Linked DNA regions of Homo sapiens: regions 1 and 3 are each linked to region 2. The links are contacts of gene promoters, found by promoter capture Hi-C in human tissues and cell types (Jung and others, 2019). All regions are on one chromosome and are shown on one strand. The core of a region is centred on a gene start or on the middle of the fragment in contact, and the rest is flanking DNA. Distances in the headings are between cores, read along the strand shown.

Region 1 (2,700 bases), core at 195-2,694, 95 kb after region 2:
CATCATTCCTTCAGAGATCCATACAAATTGTTGTGTGCCTTTTAATATCTGAAACATCTGAACTCCAAAACATATTTAGCCCAAAGGTTTTGGATGAGGGGCTGTGGAGCTGCTCTGAACGTCTGCCTCTACCCTGCCTGCTCTTTGAACCATTGAGGAGTGGGACTGGCAGGAGCCGGGGCTGTGTTCTTATCAGTGAATGTAGTGTGAAACCCAGTCTTCGGTGTCTGGTGTGAATGCACGGCCTGCTGCCATGTGCCATGTAACAGTTGGATCCTATTGCAGCTTCCTTATTCAATATTCATAGTCATCTGCTTCATTTGCCTTTGACTGGGTTTCTCCTCACTGCATTTTCCTTCTGGGCCCAGATTCTAGCCATAATTTGCTCTCTGGTTTCCCTAGTCTAGTTGCTCCCAGCCCCATTCCCTGAGACTGCACCTGGCTTCCTAGATCACTTAACATTGACTCAGATCAGCATGTGGATTTGTGACTCAGGGCTCAGATTTCAGAACTTGCCTTCCTCAGGCTCACCTTCGGGCCCTCCGATTCCCAAAATTGGATACAGGGTCTTCCTTGGAGAGCTTTCTGGTATGTATAGTCCTCATCAGTAGAGTGTCTTGATGTCAGTAAACTCCAGCCAAAAATATGGTTACTGTTAATATTTTCCAAAGTGAAATTTGTCCAACTTAAGCTGACATTATAGTTGAAAAGGTACTTTGGTAAATTCTATAGTGGAAATTGTCACTAAATGTAATAACTTAATCTTCTCTTATTGACATTTGACTTAAACACATCTCTGAGATGCGCGCGTGCGTGTGTGTGTGTGCGTGTGTGTGTGGCTAAAATTGCTAATAATGTTTAAGGCAGAGAAACGTGGTAGAATGGCACAAGATAGGGCATTCATCACACCTGTCTTTCTTGCATGTCTACCTGCTGTGATGAAAGATATCAAAATAGTTGATGTTATAATACTATTGTCCCAATCAACCTTGGTTAATTTATGTCTTCCTCTTGGAGAAAGCTAAACTGAGGAGGTCATTGTAGGTTCACTAAGACATTCTTTCTAGCCCAACAACTATTATAAAAACACACATCCAAGTGGAAAGCAAAAGCTTCATTTCTAATAATTCAGATAATTTGTTCAGGTGAAACAATTTTCTGAGAATTTCCAGATGTTTAAGTGTTTCGCTTTTCCATCTGGTGCTTGCTGTTGTATAGAGCAGTCCAGCATTGCTTTGTGATACTGTTGGTTAACACTGACTTGCCAGAAGCCTGTCCTGGGAATATCAATAGGATCCACTGATTCCCAGAAGAAATCAATTAGGAATGAGGAAAGAAGAGAAGAGGAAGAGGCAATATTTAACCCTCGCTTATTTTCTCATCTAACTCATTTTCAGTCCTCTTCCCAAAGAGAACAAATGACAAGGCTTTGGCAACTAAGATAGAAAATGATGGAAAATTAAAAACATATAGGGTAGTTTAAGCAATCTTTTAAACATTTGTACAAAAGAAATGAAAAAACTCTGTATGAGAAAGTTACGTATTTTTTAGTTTACATGAAAAAAAAGAAAAAAAGAATTAACCAGTTTTTCCCGGTTACAAATGTTTTCTTTAAATCTTTTTGTCTCAATGTTTTTTTTTTCTTCTTCTTCCCGTTCTCCTCTCTCCCCAAGCCCTAGCAATCACCAACATGCTTTCACAAAAAAACTATTGTCTCAATGTTTTAAGAAAACTTTTTGACAATGAAAATTGTCCCATTTTTTATGAAAAGTTTTCTGGAATAGCAATGCACTAAATTCCAGTGCTTTTTACCTTAAGTTTAAACAATTTTTTTCTTATGAAAAGGGCTTCAGCACTGAAGAAGCAGCCATATTGATAGGCCTCTGCTTTTGATTTGCATGTCAAAACTACTTCCTGAAAACTAATTCTTACTCTACTTTGCAAATCTTTCCACAGTTGAAAGAGTCATAAAATACGTAAAACAAAAAGCACACAAAAAAGTGCACATTTCTGACTGGTTACCCATGATGGAATGGTGAGGTCAGGGAAAATAAACAAAAAATAGAAACTGTCAGTCTATATTTTTTAGTCTAAATCATATATATATACATATATATACATATATATATATTTGTTGTTACCATTTGTTTATCTTAAATATTTAAATCATAACTTGAAATTGATCTTAGAACCTTACTACAATTGGATGCCCAGAATAGTGGCTAGCACAAAAAGTGGGTGTGGAATAAATATTTATTCCCTAAATGTATGCATGAATGAAGATTTTTGTATTTATTTTCTGTAAATTCTTATAAAATATCATATGACAACTCCAGAATCTGGACCAAAGCAAGTACTAATTTCTGAGTTCGGGCTTAATTTTAAATTATTAAGTTTGTGAAGTGTTTGGAAATGCTTTGCTTATGGAATGTTAGTTGCACATAACATAATATCACTCTTTGTTTTATATCTGCAAAAATAAATAAAGATTTGTGCTATCTGGTTTAATTATCTCATTAGAATTCAGTAAGCTATGTAAAGGCTGCCTTTTGGGGCTCATTAAGCCAAACTTCCCCATCAGTATTAGGAATGTTGCAAGTGAAGAAAATACATTTTAGAGCGGAGAGTGTGTTGTTGCTGAAAAGTCATTTGGTTGCTACAATACTGCTTGCAAGGAGGGAGGGGGCCTTCAGGCCAGAT
Region 2 (2,700 bases), core at 100-2,599:
ATTAGGTCATCAACCACTTCACCTTGAAAGGAGAAAAACACGAAGAGCTTAAGCAGTTTATCTATGCTCTTACAGCTCTTTAGTGTCAGAGCAGTGTGTTCACCTAGAAACTGCTGTTAAAATTCCAAATGACAGCAAGTCAAGCACCGCTGCTGTTCAACAGTTTCCTTCTCACATTAAAAATGGAATAATGGATATATCCACGACTGAAAATCCTACTCAGTAATAAACAATAAACACGAACACACTGATTTAAGCAACGGACATAAAAGAATCTCAAAAACATTAGGCTGCGGGAAAGAAACCAGACACAAAAGAATACCTACTGTATGGTTCCACTTACCTAAAGGCAAAACTAACTTGGAATGATAAAAATCAGATCAGTAGTTCCCTGGAGTCAGGGGAGAGTGAGGAATACCTGGCAAATAGGTGCGTCGGAATTCAGGGGGAGGGGCGATATTGATTACAGGGTAAATACATTTGCTAAAACACACATAACTGTGTTCTTCACAATCATGTAAGATAAGGAACTTAATCCCAAGGGGCCTACTGGCACCAGACTAGAAAGATGCAGCCCTCGGGTATTCTACTTTTGCTACTTTTGTTTCTATCATGGAGAGAAGATGTTAGAAAATTTGGAAAGGAGTCTCCTCAGATGGATTTTGTGGCACCTCCTACATAGAGGTAGGGGAGGAAGTCGAAAGCCCGCCCACCCAATAGATCCAGAGGCACCGACCTTGGGAGGGGAGAAGGGTGGACAGCGGGGACACTCACCACTTAGCAGGCTCTCTGGGTGATAGCCACAGTCCAGCAATTCTGAAATGCTGGCCGGGTTCTTGCTGCTCAAACTGCCAGTTGCAACCATGGTCAACGGCTCTGTTTCCTTCGCGAGGCGCAACGGCCTTTCCTGAGCGCTGGAAAAAATGAGGCGAGAAGAGACGGATTTGCAAAAGCAGGCGAGTCGTGCAGAGGCTCCTAAAATGCCCGGCGTCCCGGGAGCGAACTAGCGGAGGAACTCCTTTGCCAAAGGGGTGGAACCGGCCTCTGCAACTCAATTTGACAAAGCCCTGGGAGCGGAGCCGCAACCTGAAACTAACTCAACAGTTCGCAAAACTTGGAAGCGACCTGCCCCGCGGAGCGCCCCCCGGCCCCGCTGCCCCCACCAAGGCCGCAGCTTCGCTCACCTGCCAGGAGTTCGCGGGGGCCTGCGCGCTCGCTGCCGGGTAAACACAGGCAGGTGGCTTCTTAGGAGTCCCCTCTCCTGGGGACTCGGTGACCTGCAGACCCCAGCAGCCAGCGGCACCCTGCTCACCCCTCCCGGGCCACCCTGCGCCGGCTCCTCGCAGTAGCATAGCCTCCGGGGCAGCGAGAACTTTATAGGTCCAGTCCCCACCCTGCTCAGGCCCGCCCACCTGCACCGCCCCTCCCCGGCCAGCGCCCCGCCCCTCCCCTCCAGAGTCTGGTCCCCTTTCAACCTCTACACTTCCAGGGAGCCCGAGCCTAGCCACAGGGAGTTGAGGATAAGCCTGTGGTAGAGCGGACACCTGTTGCTTCCAGGGTAGATCTCGGGCCACTGGGACCGCAATTCCGGGTGCACGACTCGTCAAAGCCTGAACCTGATTGTTCAGTGCGACCCCTCCCCGAGCGTCCGCGCTTTCACACTCAGGCTGCTCCCGGCAGCGGGAAGCTTTAAGCGATCTGTGCATTTCCTTGTCCTGGGGCTTTGCTGTGTCATCCTGAACACTTGGCTTAAATCTGTTGCAACGTCCACTGAGCATCATTTATGCACTTATTTCTGGCCTCTAACCCAGTCAACTCTACTCTGCCTCCCAGGGTTTCTGTATCCTCCTCTGCTGCAAGCGGTCAGATCTAGTTTTCCTTTCCCGCATCGAAGGCTCGCCAGCATTTTAAGAAGGGCCTTAATGACCCCACGCACTCCGTGGCTCCCTGGCATTCTTCGTGCACTTACATCTGTGGCTAATGCGTTTTCTTCGCAGGAAGGGTGAGCCTGGCACTCTTCTAATTAGACCTTGCCCCAGAGCGCGGGGAGCTTGAATTGAGCGGGAGTTTGCCAAGAAACACACAATACCATTAGTAGGATCTTAGGTACTCCTCTATCCGTGCATCGAGAGCAACTGTCATTTCCGGAGGCAGAAGTTTCTGGCGAGCCCTGTTGGGAGGATCTTTGGTTTGGGATATTTTGAAGAGGTTTCAGAGACTGAAGATAAAGAGTTTTATATTCTGCTGGGGATCAGCAGATAATCCCTGTGAGGGCTCCGTGCGGTCCTGCACAGGAACACACAGAGAGGCAGAGGAGCCCTGGAAAGAGGCAACATGCCCGCATAGCCCATGAGCAAGAAGCCAAACCTGATTTTTTTCTTCCAAAGTTATTAAGCCACGGTTTTCTCGCTTTGGTGTGCCAGTAGGAGATGATCTGTTCAGAGAGTCAGCTTGGGGTGCGTTAGGGGATGCCTGGAGGGAGAAGGTTGTTCCTACAGTAGAGATCCCAGTGTTGGCTCCCAGGCCCTCTAGGATTATGTGTAGAAGGATTTGCAGGTTAGAACCTTGAAAGGCAGTTTCAGCTGTCCTGGCATAAAACTCTTAGAAAAACAACAACAGAAGGGGTATAGAGGGTGTGATAAACAGATCAGTGGGAGGACATTCGGACGCAGAGCAGCAGAAATTAAAGCCAGCTTGACA
Region 3 (2,700 bases), core at 138-2,637, 66 kb after region 2:
TGTGCAGTTGGGTGGAGAAGAGTGGGTCATGATCTGGAGGACTAGAAAACATCTAGCTTACACCTTAACAACTGGTTATTATCAGTCTTAAGGTTTTGCCCATTTCATAGGTAAAATATGCTATATTGTTTTAATTTTCATGTCTTGTATATTTACTAGTAAGTTTGAGAATTTTTATTTTCTTTTTTTTGAGTTACATGTTTATATTTTTTACCTTTGCTTTTTCCTTATGGATTTGAAGACACTCTGTGTGTGTTAGGTAAGTTAGCTTTTGTCCACTTCCATATTAGAATATTTTCTTCAATTTGCTGTTTGTCCTTTAACATATTTACAGCAACTTTGTCAAACAGAATTAAAGTCTATACAGTCTTGTTCACATTTTTTTTTTTCCTTTATGGCTTCTGGGTTTCTTGTCTTTCTTGGAAAGGCATTCTATTCCTTCTAGTTATATTTTCTGTACATTTTCTTCTAGTGCTTTTTGAGCTTTTTTATATTTAAAACTTTAAGCAACCTGAGATTTATTTTAATATTTGGAATGAGGTGAGGCTCTAACCTTATTTTCTTCCATATGAATATAGTTTCTCAATATCATTGATTAAATAATTCATTATTTTTCCTCTAATTTGAAGTGCTGCTTTGATTATACATAAACTATTCATGTACATATGAATCTGCTTCTGGGCTGTACTCTTTTCCTTTAATCTATTTGTTAATTTCTGCATCAATATTATGCATCTATAAGTACTTTAACTTTTAAGTATCTTTTATTATTGTAAAGAAGGGACTTTTATTTTTTTATAATATTTGAGTTTTCTCTTTTGTAATTACTTTTAAAGAACTATTTAGACTATCTCTTTAGCCCATTTTATTCATTTGTTAAAGTTTTGTGGTTTTCTTCTTGTAAGTTTGCACATTTCCTTTTTTATTTCTTAGGTAGTTATTTTATAAATTTTGCTACTATTGGTTTTTTTCTAACTGGGTATTCTTGGTATAAAGGAAAGCTTTGGTCTTTTGAAATATTAATTTGGCTTGTTAGTAAATTCTGTTATTTCTAATTGCTTCTAGTTGATCCATAACCTTTTGAATATTTCCTCTAGCACACAACTGCACGTGGCTCTCTCAAGTTTTGGTGCAACCCAAATTCTCAACTTACTTATCTGCTCTTCCAAGATCTGCTTCTGGTGCAAGGGACAACTGTGGCATAATGGCAAGAGCACTAAATATGGTCAAAGGAGACATAGGTTGAATACCGTCTTGTGTATAACATTAGCTAGAATTGAATTCAGCTGCAAGTGTTCGAAAACCACCAAAATAAGAGTGGTTTTATTATGTAAGATCTTATTCTTGCTACGAAAGAAGTCTTAATGCACGAGTGGGCTGGTAAGGTGCTTTATGAAGTTGTTTCTGACATCCCTAGGACAAGACCCTCATCCTTATGTCCCAAGAAAGTGTTTGTGCACCAGTGATTATGTCCGATTCCAGGCCAGCAGTAGGAAGAGAAGGTGGAAAAGCCTATGAAGGGCCCACCATTAAGGCCATTTATCTTGAATCATCCATAATCCTTTCACTTACAGATTATTTGACAAACCTACTCACATGCCTATGCCTAGCAGGAAAAGAGTCTGGGTAAAGTAGTTGTTAGAAACTAAAACTGTTTAAGTGAGCAAGTAGATAATGTATACTGGGGTGTTTATTACTTAGGAAGAATGGATAGAGAGAGAGTTAGCAGTCTGTTGAGTCACTAAATACATATGTGAACATGCGCCAATTCAATTTTTTTCCATAAAGAAAAAAAGCATTTCTTATGATTATGAAATAATACACCACCATTAGGAAGAATTCAAACAAATCGGAACATTTGAAGACAAGGATAACAAGTAACTGAAATCTTACAAGTCAGAGATACATTTCTATTAGTAAATATTTCTTCGTGTACCTCTTTGTACACACACCACATACTTTACAGAAATGGCATTATTTTACACATTGCTTGCTTTCTCTAAACCTGCTGGGGATGTTTTGTCTCAGGATAATTGCATTTATGATTGCTTCTATCTGGAATGTCCTCTCTCTAGATACAGGTATGGTTATCTCCCTCCCTTTCTGAGTATGGCTAGCTACTTAACTTCATTAGTGTGGCCAGCTTCCTCACTTCCTCGGTACAGCTAGCTCCTTCACTTCCTCACAGAGGTGGCTTCTCCTTTTCTTCCTCAGTGTGACCAGGCCCCTCCCTGACTCAGCAAGGCTATCTCCTCACATTGTCATGTTGCTAGCTCCCTCCCTTCCTAGGTGTAGCTAGCTCTGTCACTTCCTCATGTGAACAGCCCCTTGCCTCACTGACTCATGTGGCTAGCTCCCTGCTTCCTTGAGGTTTTTGCTGAAATGTCATTCATTCAGTGACACCTCCCTGATGCCAGCTCCATTTATAATTGCATTCCTCCCCCCTTTTCATATTTTATTTTAATTTTCTTCATAGAATTGATCACCTTCATATATATATGAAATACATATATATAAATAAATATATATACATATATATATATGAAATAGTTATTTTGCTTGTTTTCTGTTCTCCCGAGACAATAGAAGTTCCACAAAAGTAGGGATTTTGTCTTTCTTGTCCACTGTTTATCCAGTGCATAATATAGGGCCCAGAACCTAGTAAGCACTCAATAAATCCTTATCAAATGATTGCATTCA

What was found. Contacts are between HindIII fragments. The study calls those that stand out against the background at their distance.
Region 1: a fragment that was not itself captured here is called in contact with the fragment with the promoter of DDIT4L in region 2 in 2 of the 25 tissues and cell types used here (H1 embryonic stem cells and dorsolateral prefrontal cortex).
Region 3: a contact is called between a fragment that was not itself captured here and the fragment with the promoter of DDIT4L in region 2, in 2 of the 25 tissues and cell types used here (pancreas and spleen).

Annotation. Positions count from the first base shown.
Region 1 is chr4:100,284,056-100,286,755 of GRCh38, forward strand. No RefSeq gene overlaps it. Among named protein-coding and RNA genes, the nearest start is that of DDIT4L, 95 kb to the left of the region's middle. The HindIII fragment of the contact is 3,637 bases long and covers 1-2,700 here.
Region 2 is chr4:100,189,119-100,191,818 of GRCh38, forward strand. DDIT4L (DNA damage inducible transcript 4 like) reads right to left here and starts at 1,350. Exons shown (of 3, transcript NM_145244.4): 1 at 1,185-1,350; 2 at 775-914. The coding sequence starts at 865. DDIT4L-AS1 (DDIT4L antisense RNA 1) reads left to right here and starts at 915. Exons shown (of 5, transcript NR_125924.1): 1 at 915-956. The HindIII fragment of the contact is 5,141 bases long and covers 1-2,700 here.
Region 3 is chr4:100,255,518-100,258,217 of GRCh38, forward strand. No RefSeq gene overlaps it. Among named protein-coding and RNA genes, the nearest start is that of DDIT4L, 66 kb to the left of the region's middle. The HindIII fragment of the contact is 7,611 bases long and covers 1-2,700 here.